3 separate regions of the Homo sapiens genome follow, and all the other regions are linked to region 1. The links are contacts of gene promoters, found by promoter capture Hi-C in human tissues and cell types (Jung and others, 2019). All regions are on one chromosome and are shown on one strand. Each heading gives the region's core, a stretch centred on a gene start or on the middle of the fragment in contact. The rest is flanking DNA. Distances are from core to core; before and after follow the strand shown. Region 1 holds the start of ENDOV (endonuclease V). Region 2 holds the start of TMEM105 (TMEM105 long non-coding RNA). Region 3 holds the start of AATK (apoptosis associated tyrosine kinase).

Evidence for each region. Contacts are between HindIII fragments. The study calls those that stand out against the background at their distance.
Region 2: the fragment with the promoter of TMEM105 here is called in contact with the fragment with the promoter of ENDOV in region 1 in 1 of the 25 tissues and cell types used here (lymphoblastoid cells).
Region 3: the fragment with the promoter of AATK here is called in contact with the fragment with the promoter of ENDOV in region 1 in 6 of the 25 tissues and cell types used here (dorsolateral prefrontal cortex, heart left ventricle, heart right ventricle and 3 more).

The regions. Positions count from the first base shown.
Region 1 is chr17:80,412,375-80,417,175 of GRCh38, reverse strand. ENDOV (endonuclease V) reads right to left here and starts at 2,009. Exons shown (of 10, transcript NM_173627.5): 1 at 1,926-2,009; 2 at 1,355-1,526. The coding sequence starts at 1,981. It overlaps RNF213-AS1 (RNF213 antisense RNA 1), which reads left to right and starts at 2,008. Exons shown (of 2, transcript NR_029376.1): 1 at 2,008-2,247. RefSeq lists an enhancer at 1,487-1,576. The HindIII fragment of the contact is 5,195 bases long and covers 1-3,467 here.
Region 2 is chr17:81,328,489-81,333,289 of GRCh38, reverse strand. TMEM105 (TMEM105 long non-coding RNA) reads left to right here and starts at 2,616. Exons shown (of 3, transcript NR_165247.1): 1 at 2,616-3,146. RefSeq lists enhancers at 849-1,419, 1,420-1,990, 3,134-3,703, 3,704-4,275, 4,276-4,801. The HindIII fragment of the contact is 14,660 bases long and covers 1-4,801 here.
Region 3 is chr17:81,164,319-81,169,119 of GRCh38, reverse strand. It overlaps AATK (apoptosis associated tyrosine kinase), which reads left to right and starts at 2,899. Exons shown (of 14, transcript NM_001080395.3): 1 at 2,899-3,182. The coding sequence starts at 3,128. PVALEF (parvalbumin like EF-hand containing) reads right to left here and starts at 3,613. Exons shown (of 7, transcript NM_001354639.2): 1 at 3,373-3,613; 2 at 2,276-2,443. RefSeq lists enhancers at 3,358-4,101, 4,102-4,801. The HindIII fragment of the contact is 13,495 bases long and covers 1-4,801 here.

The DNA of each region.
Region 1 (4,801 bases), core at 760-3,259:
CGTCATATTAAATTACGCAGGGGACAGGTCATGACGGGCCTTGAAGCCATGCCAACCAGAGTGAACTTTATTCACCATGAGGTCATGAGAAGGGCACTTCAATGTTCTAAGAGGACTTGTGGGCTGGGTGTGGTGGTTCCCACCTGTAATCTCAGCACTTGGGGAGGCCAAGGTAGGAGGATCCCTTGAGCCCAGGAGCTGGAGACCACCCTGGGCAACATAGTGAGATCCTGTCTCTACAAAAAATAAAAAAATAAGCCGGGTGTAGTGGCTCACACCTGTGGTCCTAGCTACTCAGGCTAAGGTGGGAGGATCACTTGAGTCCAGGAGGTTGAGATCAGATCTTGACAGTGAGCCAAGATTATGCCACTGCACTTCAGCCTGGGCACAGAGTGGGGGAAGGGGAAAGGAAGGAAAGAGAGACAGAGAGAGGAAGGAAGGGAGGAAGGAAGGAAGGAAGGAAGGGAGGGAGGGAGGGAGGGAGGGGACTTGTTGCTTTTGAGGAAAATACTTGCTTTTTAGGAAAATTGGTCTGCTGGCAGTATGGAAAAGAAACCACTGAGGAGGAACATTTGAGCCAGGGCACCCATGAAAATGCTGCTCAGGAACCCACAGGAGTGATGGTGGCACAGCCAGGGAAGGAGCAGAGGGGAAACAGACAAGGGGACAGATTCCAGCGACATTTAAGAGGCAGAATAAAAGCGAGCTAGTGTGCAACTGGACGCGAGAGGAACGGAGGGGCCCAGGAGGATGCAGATCTCCAGCTTGGGCAACTGGGAGCGTGGTGGACAGGTCACTGAGATGAAGAACCCAAGATAACAATCAGACTTGAAGATAAAGCTCATGAGCTGATTCTTAATAGTCACAGAATTCCCTTAATTTTTGCCTTTTTTTCCCTTCCAAGACTCCCCAGACTTTTTTTTTTTTTTTTTTTTTTTGAGATGGAGTTTCGCTCTTGTTGCCGAGGCTGGAGTGCAATGGCGTGATGTTGGCTCACCGCAACCTCCGCCTCCCGGGTTCAAGCGATTCTCCCGCCTCAGCCTTCCGAGTAGCTGGGATTACAGGTATATGCCACCACACCCGTCTAATTTTGTATTTTTAGTAGAGACCGGGTTTCTCCATGTTGGTCAGGCTGGTCTCGAACTCCCGACCTCAGGTGATTCCCCCGCCTCAGCCTCCCAAAGTGCTGGGATTGCAGGCGTGAGCCACCGCGCCCGGCCAACTCCCCAGACTATTAATGACATCCTACAAAACGAGAAGCCGGGTTCTACGCTTGCACTGCTCCCTGTCCCGGAGACCGCACGCCCGAGCCCACCGAGGGGCCCGCCTCGAGCTCGGCGTCCTCCCAGGTTACCTCGAGCTCAGGGAAGCTGAGCACCACCAGGGAAGCACAAGCGCGGACACTGTCCCCTTTCACGAAGGACACGTCAACGCCCCCGACCCTCTGCAGACCCGAGAAGGCGGGGTCTCGCTGCCACGCCTCGGTGTCCCGGTCTACGACGTGGGCCTTCAGCCGAGCTTGCTCCCTAGGAGGACAGAAGCGTCAAACTTGGTCGGGGTCACACCTCAGACTCTGCCTCCTCCACCCGCGCGGCTGCAGCGGACAGAGCGCCTCTGCCGGGTCTTCTCCCGCTTCAAGGGAAAGCAAGGGACATACCGCCGAGGCCACAGTCCCTAGGAGCCCAGGCGGCGGAGACCCGCGCAAGCGCAGGCCAGACAAACTGGCCGGAAGCGAGAACCGCGCCCACCCCGCGGACTACAATTCCTGAGATCCCTCCGCTTCCGCGCCGGAAACTGGGCTTTGCTTTGGAGTCTCGGGCGGTGGCAGCTCCGATTCCACAGCCTGAAGACTATGAGCTCGGAGGGTCCGCGAAGGGCCGCCCGGCCTCGGCCCCCGCCTCCTGCGCGTCGCCTGACAGCATTACCGTTTCCACAGTGACAGCGTTTCCTCCGGCGGCCCTCCCGCCGCCTCCAGGGCCATGGCTTCGTCCCGGGCACCCCTTCCGCACGTCACTTCCGGAAGCGACTCGCTCTGACGCCGTCCGCCCTCGTTGCCATGGAGACGCTTGCGCTTTCCCGGGCCGCACTTCCCACCCGGGTCTTCAGAAGCCCGTGGCCGCTGGGTGAGCCCCTGCGTGAACGCACACGCACGCACACGGCTTCAGGTTGCCCCGCGGCGCCGCGCGCGATATCGGCTCGGATCCCGGGAGGCCGTCCGCCCCTTTTTCAGCGGATAGCTGAGGCCAGGTAAGTGACCGCGCGAGGACCCGGGAACTCCGTGACGCCCGTCCCGCCTCTGCTGTCCCCGCCGCAAGCGCTGCGCTCTGCACGGCGAGAGGGGCCTCTTGCCCTGTTGAGAGCCGGCGGGCACGGCACTTCTGCGCTTGGAAAAGGGTGGTCCAGCACTGCAGGTCCCACTCCTTGGCCCGGTCAGCGTCCGCCTTTGCTGAACCCCGAAAGGATTCACCAGGTCCAGGACAGCCCGGCAGTTGCCTCAGGAGCACTTACTGAGCGCCTGTCGTTGACGCCCCCACCTCGATGGCAGCTCAGGGGTGCCCTCAAGCTTTTGAGGGCAGGTGTCGTGTATTTAAATTCTTCACAGTTTAGCGGGCTGGACTCACGGGGGTGCTGCAGACTTGGACGGGGTTTCATCTGGGTCGGACCTTGCTGGGCAGAAAGCTTCTCCTACCAGACAAAGTACGGCGACCTTGGGGGGTCTTGGTTCTTACCTCGTGTTCCTCATTGAATGAGTGTTGGTTCAGTGCTCTCGCTGTGCCAGGTGTTGTGCGAAGTACTGTGAGGGAGAATATGTATTTATTTGTGGGGAGCCGACTTTAAACCGGTGGTTGGGAAAGGCCTGAGAGGCGATATTGAAGACACCTGAAGGGTGAGTGAAAGAGCACGGCGGGTGAGTGGAGCAGCTTTCTCGTGCAGGTCCCGGGGTGGGAAAGAGGTTGGTGTATTTGAAGCACTGAAAGGCAGCCACTGAAGCTGAAGTGTAGCAGTTTAACCCATGGTTTTATATTCTCCTGGGAGGATTCAGAAGGGTGTATGTGTGTATGTATATATAATAGCCTGAATATAAACGTCAAGGGTGTTAGGTTTTGAAGGGAAGGTGAAGGTTAAAGAATGACGCACAGTGAGATTGCCGGCGCGCGGGCGGCTCTACAGCAACACAGGTGTATTGCAAACACCTGTCGGGGGCCAGCTTAATGCCAGAGCCCACCAGCGATTACAGGCTGGGGTACTCATAGGCCTGGGCAGGAGGGATCTAGGCAGTATGGCTTGCTGTCCGGGAAGATGTTAACGTGTTCCCAGGATGAGGTGGTTCCGGCAGAATGTGGTGTTCCTGGCGCTTTGTCCCAGCAGAATATGTTAAGAGGCAGGCTGTTTCTCATGGCTCGAACCCCCGTGGAATGTTTCACTTTGACCAAGGTCTACAAAATGGAAAGGGGCTTACAAAATGACGCAGTTTGGACTAACAAAGGGGAAAATACAGAGGATGAAATTAGACTCTAGAGGTTGAGGCTCAGGAAAGGCTTCATACAGCTTTGGGAACTGACAAGGCTTTGAAAGCAGGGTCAGTTTTCAGCGAATGAGCGTCACCCACTGCACCCTGCGCACCCTGCTCCCCTGCTGCGGTGTCTTTCCCACCAGAGTGTAGCAGGACAAGCCGCAGACAAAACCCCTCAGACACCGAGTTAAAGAAGGGCTTTATTCAGCTGGGAGCTTCGGCAAGACTCACGTCTCCAACAACCGAGCTCCCCGAGTGAGCAATTCCTGTCCCTTTTAAGGGCTCACAACTCTTCAGGGGTCTGCGTGAGAGGGTCGTGATTGATTGAGCAAGCAGGGGGTACGTGACTGGGGGCTGCATGCACCCGTAATTAGAACGGAACAGAACAGGACAGGGATTTTCACGGTGCTTTTCTATATAACGTCTGTAATCTATAGATAGCATCACTGATTAGGTCAGGCGTCGATCTTTAACTACCAGGCCCAGGGTGTGGTGCAGGCTGTCTGCTTGTGGATTTCATTTCTGCCTTTTAGTTTTTACTTCTCTCTTTGGAGGCAGAAATTGGGCGTAAAACAATATGAGGGGTGGTCTCCCTTATTCTCCCTCTCTGAGAATCTCACTCAGTAGTGGGAGTTGTCACTTTTATTTTTACTACCTATGTTTTCTTGCAAGACAGATCGATAGTGATTCATATAGTACAGTTGTGCTGAAGCATTTTGGTGAACTAAGGTAGCGATGAAGCTTTTTATCATTTGAAGAAGTATGGGTAGCAAACAAGGGAGCAGAACGCAGGTTTCTATTGCTATTGTAACTCCTAATATAAGAGTTTTAAATCTTTTTAGTGCTGGGAACCATTTTCCAAACATGGCCCCAGGACCAAATCCATGCCACACTTGCACGGGCACATGTGCCAGTTTTGTCATATTTCTAACTGTGTCTTCAACTAATTGCCCTCGATCATCTATGTGTAGACAGCAATTAGTAAGGTTAAATTTTTTACAGACCTCTCCTTCAGCTGCTAGCAAGTAGTCGAGAGCCAATCTATTTTGATAGATAGCATTTCTCATCTGAGTTTCTTGCCAGGCCAGAATAGTCAAGGCTCTGCCGGTCTTATTAGTGATTATTTCTAAGACAGCTTGTAACCGTATGATTCGGTTGAGCATGTAAATGGGGGTCGGGTATCCCTAGGAGCCATCTTGTGCCTAAGTACCAGGCCCATAATATTGTATGATTCTTTCAGGGGGCCATGTATTATCTTTTGAATTTTTTATAGCTATGCTTCTCTTT
Region 2 (4,801 bases), core at 1,367-3,866, 920 kb before region 1:
AGTGATGCTCCTGCCTGGGACGCTTGACCTGCACTGAGCACAGGGGAGTCGGATCCGGAGGCATTCTCGGAATCACCTCTCCGGATGCTCAGAAAAGGGCAATGTTTTTAAAAAGGCAAAAGGGTGCGGTGCGTGTTATAGATGAGAGGAGGCTAACGGGAGACCCTGGATAGGATCCTGAACGAGGCTTGGGGTGGGACTGCTCTGGCGGGCCGTGGAGCTGACTGGGAAGTTTACACACAGCAGGCGGGGCCACGGGGCCGTGCATCGTTCTGTGTGGCACTGCGTTTCCCCAGGCGTGCTGCTGGAGGCAGGCAGGTGTTCTTAGACATTTGATGCTACAGTATTTAGGGTGAAGTGTCAAGGTGTCTGCAACTGACACTCAAAAGATTCAGCAGTTTTACATAAAGGGGGAGCAAGAAGTAAGAGAGGAAGCCAAGGTGACACAATATTTTTTAAAAGGGCTTCTGGGTACAAATCAGTGTACGTACAGAAATACATTTTATTTGTGCAGATGTGCAGAGACACTTTCGGCTGGCATGGTGGTTCATGCCTGTAATTCTAGCACTTTGGGAAGCCAGGGCAGGAGGATTGCTTGAGCCCAGGCTGGACAACATAGTGAGACCCCATCTCTGCAAAAAACACAAAAATTAGCCAGGCGTGGTGGTGTGTGCCTGTAGACCCAGCTACTTGGGAAGCCGAGGATCGCTTGAGTCCAGGAGGTCGAAGCTGCAGTGAGCCTTATTCTCACCACTGCCCTGCAGCCTGGGCAACAGAGCAAGACTCTCTCAAATCAATCAATCAATAAATTTGACTGCAGGTGCCAGAAGTGGACTCTGACTAACTGAAGCCGGGAGCAGGTATTTGGTTGGAGCTTGCAGCAGGGAGGGCAGGGGGAAGGCGCTGTTCAGGCCCCAACAGCAGCGGCTCGGGAGTGGCCCCAGCACAAGCCCAGTGTCCCTCGGCTCAGCATTCAAATTCCAGGAAAAGAGTCCCGATGGTCCGGCTTGGTCTAGGGCTGTGGCCCGTGGCAGGTCCCCAAAACCACACCTGCCGCTCCAGTGCCCCCCAAGGCTGCATGACCTTCGTGTGGACAGGATCATGGAACACATGACCTCACCCAAGCCTCCCAACCATGCCGTGATCCAGCACTGTTAGAATCATCCCCGTTTCACAGAGCAGAGTTGAAGTGTTGGGTGTTTAAACGCTGTGCCCAGGGCTGTCCAGCCAGGGAGTGGAATCTGGTCCTGGCCCAGAAGGCAGCAGCCCCACCCAGGCCACCTGCTCCAGGTCCCCGGGCTCCACAGACTTTCACATCTACTGCAGAGGCGCAAGGACGTTCCCCAGCATCAAAGCCCTCAGACCCTGGTGCCAGCCACGTCGTCACAGAACTTGTAGACCAGAGGATGCCCTGCGGATAGAGGGCCTGCCCTGGGCCTGCGCCAGGCTGGGCATATTGCTGAGGTCCCTGCTCTGTGCTGGCAAAATCCAGACCTCAGGAGAGGGGCAGGCAGGCTCTGAGAGGTTGCGGCTGCCCAGGGCCTGCAGCTGGGAGGAGCGGAGACAGACCCCCCCTCCCCTGGGACACAGTTGCTCTGCACCACACAGCTCCGCTCCTGGCGTCCCCTGGCTTTGCCGGGGGCGGCCGACCCAGCTGGCCAGGCCCCCTCCCCCTGCCCCACAGGTGGCCCTGAGCTGCTGAGGATAAGGCATGCTGGGCGATCTCTGCTGATTAGAGTCGCCCTCCGCTGTGGGCTAGGGGCCCCTATTTTGCTCCTGAGATCCCAGTCGGCCCATAGAAGCCCTCACAGGCTCTCCCGGGGGTCCAAGGAGTCCCAGGAGGCCCCCGTTCACCCCGGGTTTGCCTTCTCCCTCCTGTAATTTGCTTTTCATATGCGTGAAGGGGAACTCAGCAGGAGCAGAAGATGATGTGGCCTCGTGGGAGCGTGGGAGAGCTGGGACGGGGTGGTGGGGAGGAGCGGGGACCCAGGGACAGGGGCTCTGGGTCCAACCACCAGGCCTTTTGCACTTCGTGCTCTCTGTAGCCTCAGCTTCCCCCGAGGGTCAGGAACTCCAGGCAGGGGCATGGGGCAGCTCAGAAACCTTCCTGAGCCCCTTCCCCTGGCAAGAGGCAAACCAAGCAGGTGAGGGCTGGGCCCTGTTCTCAGAGCTGGCATCCCAGCCCTGGCCAGATCCAGGCTGAGGGCGGCCCAGCCCCCTGTTCTGCCTGGTGCAGAGGACACGGCTTCCCTGGCCGGAGCCCCCGCCCCCTCCTCTCCTTTCTTGGCGTCTGCCCCTGGGCGTGCCCTACCATTAAGCCCTTGTTGGTTCCACAAGCTGGGGGCACCCCTTCCTCCCTTCCTCCGGGCAGCCATTGGCAATGGCTGGCGGCTCGGGACAGGGCCCGTATTCTCTGAAAATGATGGCTGGGCTGGAACCCGGGATCGATTCTCAGACCTGCGTCATGTGGAGTCCCGGATGCTTGTTACGAATTCGGACCCTGGCCTGTGCCTGCTCCCTGGTACCTCTGAACAGGGCTTTCTGCCCTGGGGGTGTGAAGAGGGCCAAGTCCACTCCCCGACTGGGGTCACGCCTGCCTCCTGTCAGGACTGTGAACACTGCGTCCCCATCAGCTCAAAGAATACGCATGGGGACAAGCCTGGGGGGCCGTCTGAGAGTCCCCCAACCCTGGATCCCCACGGCAGCCCCCACTGTTGGGTTTTTCAGTGGCTGGTGTGCCCTGGGCTGGTCACCTCTGCATTTTGCTCTGCTGGGAGTTTGCTCCTGGCCCTCCAACAGCGCCTCCTCTGTGAGGAGGAACTCCTGTTCCCGTGGCTCTGCTGGCTCTGGAGGCTGGAGTTCCCGTGCTGGGCCCTCCTGGGCGGGTTCTCTCTTGCTGCCGCCAGTACCCTGCCCCTCTCGTCCTCCTGGGTAGCCTGGGAGGAATGGCAGAAGAAAGCAGTGAAGCCAGGTAGCAGTAGCCCGGCCACCCCACCAGGCTCTGCTGTAGGCTGGGCTCTCAAGGCAGCTGCTCCAGGAGGGGCCCCCTAGGAAGGGACTGCCACACTCCTGGGAGCGTTCCTGGCCCCCTCCAGTGCAAATGACCCTGGGCCCCAAGGCTCCGAACACCCGCCCCTCTGCTCCAGGTAAGAGGGAGATGTGGGTGGTGCCTGGACTGTTGTGTGCTTAGGTGGGGGAGTGGAGCCTTCAGGTCTCAGGAACCCACAAATGCTTGTTGAGCTGATGAACCCTGCAGAGATGAGAAGCTTAGGCCCAGAGAGCTGATGCCACCTGCCTGGGGCCACAAAGTCCACTGGGCAGAGGAGGGTGGGAACCCCAGTCCTTGGCCCCACTGTCAAAGCGGGTGCTTCCCAGGGAGAGCAGAGCCTGGGGTCAGTGCGGAGGACACTGGATCCCCAGTTCCGGGCTGGGGAGAGGCAGCTGGTGTTTCAGTGCTGCAGAGAGGGCCAGGCCGGCCTCAGACACCCTCCCCGAGGCCTGTGTGGGGGTGGAGGGCGGCCACACCTGTCCCACTGCAGGCCCTGGGGTGGGGTTTCCTGTCTGTGCTGGAGCCCGGTCAGGTTTCTCACTTCGCCCGGGGCAGGGGTGCAGGGCAGATGGCCCAGCCAGTCATGAGTCACCAGCCCAGCCTGCCGGCCTGCCTGACAAACGGGAAAGACCCGGCGGGTAGGAGCTGGGCTGGGAGCATCCTAGCTGGGCCTGGGCCAGCCCCTTCCTGGGAGAGGAGGGAAGCTGCCTCAGGCCTCCGGGGAGAAGCTCCCACCTGGCCCGGACCCTCCTCCCTCCTCCCTCCTCTGGCGGGGTGAGTGGGCTGAGGGCCTGCTGGGCCCCTGCATGGTGGGAAAGTTTGGGGAGGGGAGGGGTTTCCAAGCCTCAGCCGTCCAGGCCTACGCATCCCAGATCTCGCTCGCTCCACAGCGCTGTGCCATGTCATGGGCTTCTTTTTTCCTGGTCCGAAGTGTTAGTATCTGCGAAATTGCAGGCTTGATGTGTTGGCTTTATTTTTCTAACACACACTAAAATAAATCATGCGTGTTTTACAGTGTGTTGGGGCCATCTGTGGGTCACGGACGGCCCTTCTGGCCTGGGGGCTGGCCAGCTCTTTCTGTAGGGTCCAAAGAGAGCTTGAGTCCCCAGCTGGGGTAACCCAGGCAGGGATTTTCCCGACATGTAGCCCCAGAGCAGGGAGGCTGTGGCTTTGAGGAGAGGCGGAGTCCTCAGCCCAGCCTTCCTCAGGCCTCCAGAAGCAGCCTCGCCAGGCAGCCTGGGTCTGCCACCCTGCAGACAGTGTGCAGGGCAAGGGAAAAAGGACAGGCCTCTCTCCAGCCCCACACCTGCCCACGCCTCTCCTGGAATTGCCCCCATCAGAGCCCCTTGGGGGCTCATTTTCAAGTCCCCTGCCCCTACTCCGGGGACCCGGGTAGCCCTGGGCTAGCCTCTCCTCCCTGGGCCCCGCCGTCCTCATACACACCTTGTCCTTAAGCTGCCTTGGCTCCCAGGGGTGCTCAGTGTGGCCATGGCCGACAGCCCTGGACTCTTACAAATCAAGGGGGAGACACGCGAGGCCCCGCCCCCACCCTGGGCCCGGAGCCAGGTGTCCCTCAGGAAAGGGCTGCTGCAGGTCTGCAGGAAAGTGCAGAGGGTGCCCTGCGGGAGAGACGCCCACACTGCTGCCCAGCACGGGCTGCTGAGAGCCTGCGAACTCAGGCTCTGGGGCACACAGAATGCCCCCACCCCCTGCCTGTCCACCTCTTGCCCAGTCCCTCTTGCGGGCACTGTG
Region 3 (4,801 bases), core at 1,650-4,149, 750 kb before region 1:
TCTGGCCCTCCACCTGTGCTCTGTCCCGTGGATTTGTCTGTTCCAGACATTTCATACAAGTGGAATCACACACTCTGTGGCCTTCTGTGTCTTTCACTGAGCATATTTTCATGTGTCATCCATGTGGTAGCATGTGTCATGCATGTTATAGTGTGGTCAGAGCTTTGGTCCTGTGTATGGACCAATACCATTGCATCGTATGGACAGATCACATCCTGTTGATGGTTTATCTGTGGATGGGCATAACTGCTGAGTTTTTGGGTGCCCCCTAAACTTTGCTCCTGAGGTGCGTTCCTCACTCTGGTCTCTAATCCCCAGACCCCCAGGCTCTCTCCTGCCCCTGCCCCCTCTTTTCCACCACACCTGGGCTTCCTGCTGGGTTCTTGGCCTTTTTCCTCTTCGACGGGCAATGCTTCTGCACCGACACTCTCCCAGCCAATCTGGGCTCCTCGGTCAGCTCCTTCTGGGCTCTAGAGAGTCCCAGGGGCGGAGATCATGCCTTCCCCCAGGCCGGGGGATAGCAGACAGCTATGTCTTCAGGGACCTCTTACCCAGAGGTGCTCACTGATCCTGTCCCAGCGTGGGCAAAAGCCAGCACCTGGGGGGCCCCACTAGGGTCACGGTCAGTGGAAGCATCTGAACTCCTGGTTCCAGCGAAATCTCAGAGGGCCCTGTGCTTCCTGGAGAAGGGGTGTCGCTCTGGTTACGTAGGGTGGGAGTGCTGGCTTGGAGCCCAGGGGCAGCTCCTCCCCTGTCCTTCCTGGAGCCCCAAGAAGATCCACAGCTTGAAGCCCCTGAGCTGTGGCCCAGCCACAAGTGTACATGTGTGTGTTCACAGGCAAAACTGAGAGGAGCCAGCCCCTGGTCACAGCAAGCTGTTTCTGGCCCTGGTCATCAAGGCAGGGACACTGAGGGCATGGAAGTTCTGGACAGAAACTCTCCCCAACATGCCAACCAGCAACCACCCACGGCCACTGGCCACCTCCCCCTGCCTAGGTCCAGGTGTCTAGGGCACCTTCCAGGCTGGGCAGAGGAGGGCACTCCCTCCTGAGCTGGGGAGGGGAGGCCCTGACAGGGGACCCAGAGTGGAGACTCATGAGGGTATGCCATACCCTCTGTCCCTCACACTGGAGCACTCCAGGATCACAGCCTGCTGGCACCAACCATCCCTGCCACTGGGTGGGCACTGATCCTCCCAGCCCTCTGGGCTCCCTGAAGACACAGACTGAACGAGGTGGCCCAAGGCCTCTGAGTGCCTCCTGCGGGCAAGGCCCCCTTCAGCCACTCTACCCACGCGGCTTCTTTACCTGCAACGGCAGCCTGGCGGCAGCGCCCCTTAGAACCTTGGCTGGCCACATGATCAGGGCCAGGAAGAAGGCTCTGGGTGCCCTGTCTCCTTCTGCCCCAGGTGCAGTTGGTGTCTTGTCTCCTACAGCCAGGGACCCCTAAGGTCTGAGGGCACAGGGTGGAGGCCCCTTGCTTTGCCTGTTAGGAGGAAACTTCCTACATGAGGGACCCCCTTAGGAAAAGAAGGGTGGGTCCTGGTGCCCATCTGCCCCGTGGCCCAAGCATCCTGTCCTGGTCTCTGCAGGTCCCTCTGCCGGGAACAGGCTCCTTTCTCTCCCTAAAGTCCTAAGAGCCCTGTTGGAGTGGGCGCCTCTCACCTGCTCCACAGCCCCCAACCCCAACTGGGCCTTGCCAAGGGGCTTAGCCATCTGGTCCCAGAATGAGTGAGTGAATGAATGAGTGAGTGAATGAATGAGTGAGTGAATGAATGAGTGGATGAGGGTGCATCAAACTCAACTGCAAGTCTCCAGGACACTTTTTTTGAGACAAGATCTTGTTGTCACCCGGGCTGGAGTGCAGTGGTGCCATCTTGGCTCACTGCGGCCTCTAACTCCCAGGCTCAAGTGATCCTCCCACCTCAGCCTCCCAAGTAGCTGAGACTACAGGTGAGCGCCACCATGCCTGGCTCATTTTTCTAATTTTTGTAGAGAAAGTGTCTTGCTATGTTGCCCAGGCTGGTCTGGAACCCCTGAGCACAAGCCACCCGCCTGCCCTGGCCTCCCAAAGTGCTGGGATTACAGGCATGAGCCACTGGGACCAGCTTCCACTGAACTTTAACTCTCCCGACTCCCACGGGGGCAGGCTGGGGGGACCCTGCCCCGCCCCAACCCTGCAAGGTGGCACTTTGGGCGGGGATGGGGGATCCTGGGAGAAACATAGGGGAAGGGATGGCCCCTCAGCGCCCAGGCCAACCTGCTGCCCTAAGCACCTGGTACAGTCCACGGCAGGTGGAGACTCAGCCAGGTTCTTCCTTCATGGCTGTCGCAGCACGGTACAGGAGCAGGCCTGTGTGCAAAGCCAGCCACCCCCACTCCACCAGCACAGGTGCCACCCAAAGGGCATGGGGTGGGGGGGCGGCTGCCAGCCGCCTCGAAACCTGCAAGTGAGGCGAGGGCCCCTGAGCACCAAGACCCGCCCTGGGTGTGCTCCCGGGTTCCCCCACCTGTCTCCCTGAACCTTTCCACCTAGGAGTACCCCCTCCCCCACCCCGGCGTTCCCTCCGTACCCACTCACGACTTACCATTCACGACTTCCGTTTCCCCCCCCCCCGCCAGCCTCCGTGCCCCCCTCAGCCCCAGGCCGCCGTGCTTCCCGCTCCGGACCATCCCCCCACTCCGTGCCATCCCCGCTCCGTGCACGGCCCCCCGTCCCCCCTCCTCCATGCCTCCCCTCCGTGTCCCCCCTCCAAGCCCCCTTCTGTGTCCCCCACTCCGTGCTCCCCTCTGTCTCCCCCTCCGTGTCCCCCTCTCCGTGCTCCCCCCATGCCACCCCGGCCGCGGAGGGCCCCCCCCTCCCCCGCGCCGCTCCGCGCGCGCTCCCGCCCGCGTTTTCGGACTGCACCAGCGGAGCCCCGCGGCGCCAGGGCCGGGCGGAGCGCCTCGTCTGTCGCCGCCGCCCCCACCGGTGCGGGCTCTGCGGCTGCGGCGGGGGGCGCGGGGCGCGGGGGCCGGCGCGCTCCGCACCTGCGGCGGCCGCTGGGTGATGCGGCGGCTCGGGCCGGGGCCGCGGGCGTCCTGAGCGCAGCGCCCTCCCGGGATGCCCGCCGGCCGCTGGCCCGGCCATGTCGTCGTCCTTCTTCAACCCCAGCTTCGCCTTCAGCTCGCACTTCGACCCCGGTGAGTCCCTGGCGGCCCGGCCTGCGCGCCGCTGCCTCCCTCCGCTGCGGACGTGATGCCCCTGGGCCCCACGGCTCCCGGTTTGCATGGAAATTAACCCTTTCCCCGCCCCGAGCCCAGCAGCAGAAGCAGCCGGACCCCCTGGCGGCCCCAGATCTCGGAGGGGCAGGCCCTGGGCCCCAGCACAAACCGGCCTCCGCCTGTGGGCTGGCGTCCCCCGCGTGGTCGTGACTCCGTGGCTGCCTCCAGGGCACAGGTAACTGGGGCACGGAGGGCCTGCGTGGGCCCCTGGTGTCCAGGAGAGTTGGTCTCAGACTAAGGGCCCTTGGGGGTGTGGGGGGTGTCAGCCAGCTGGGGTTCAGGCTTTCCATGGCCTCTCCTGGGTCCGGGGCCCTGGCGTGGGAGGCTTCTTCCCAGGCTGGGAGCGATTCTCAGAGCCCTGCCCAGCCACCAGCAGCCGGCGGGGGATGTGGGGGGAGCAGGGGCCAGTCCACATTACAGAGCCCAGTGGGCAGAGGCTCAGAAGAGAGGGGCCTTGGTGGGTGCCCAGATCCCCTGACAGTGGGGGCCCGAGGTGACGCTGTCAAGCTGGCTGCAGGGGACCTGAGGCCAGGCCTCTTACCCCGTATGGCCAGTGCACCGGGCAGGGCGAGATTACCCATGGCTGCCTGGCCTCCTGGCTGTGGTGGACAGCTGGGATAGGCAGAGGGGGCTGGGGACAGCTGGAAGCCCCATCTGTCACCAGGAAGCAGTGGGCTTTCTAAAACCTCTGCTTCTCCAGATCCGGCCCCTGCTTGGCCTGAGTGGGAGATAATCCCCCTGCCCTGTGCCATCCATGGCCCCAGGGCCAAGTCCCACCCACACGTCACTGGGGCTCTGGCACCAGGCTGAGCCAGCCCAAACAAAGCCTGTTTGCATGTGACGTGATCTCCTGTGTCTCCTTCCCTGGAGCAGGGCCCAGTGCACGCAGCCTGGCAGGGAGGCACGGGGGTCCCCGGGGCAGATCTCGGTCTGAAGGCATTTGCTCCCTGGAGGAAGGGAGCTGGTGGGAGGTCTGTCTGCTGGGCTTAGGGCTGTGGGTGTCACTTGCTCAGAAATGACTTCCTGTAGTGACCCCTGGGGCTCGGAAGTCCCTGTGGGGTGGGCAGGTGAAGGCTCAGAGCCCAACAGCCACGGCAACAGCTGTAATGTCTCCCCGGCCCAAGGGCAGGGGGTGGAGGAGGCTTGGGGCAGGTCCTCATCACATCTCCATGCCAGGCGTGGCCCACGGTGCTTGGTCCTTTCTGCCCCCAGAACAGAGAGGACCCTCGGCCCATACCCTGCCTCGGGGCCCAGCCTTGTCCTTGGCCATGAGAGGCCCTTTCCCCCGCCTTCGAGCAGCACCGGCTCTGCCCTTCTCTGGGTAAACAGCTGTGATCTGAATAATTCTAATGTGTCCGTTTAATGACTTAGAGGAAAAGAAGTTGTTGGAGGCAAGGGGCGTCTCTCCTCTGCAAGATGCTGGGCCAGAGCTGCAGGCACCTGCTGGGCTCTGGGGCCCACCTACCAGGAGGGGCTGCCCAAGGTGCTGGTGCTGGTGAGGAAGGAGACCCTCCTTCGGATTAAGGGGCTGGGTCTAG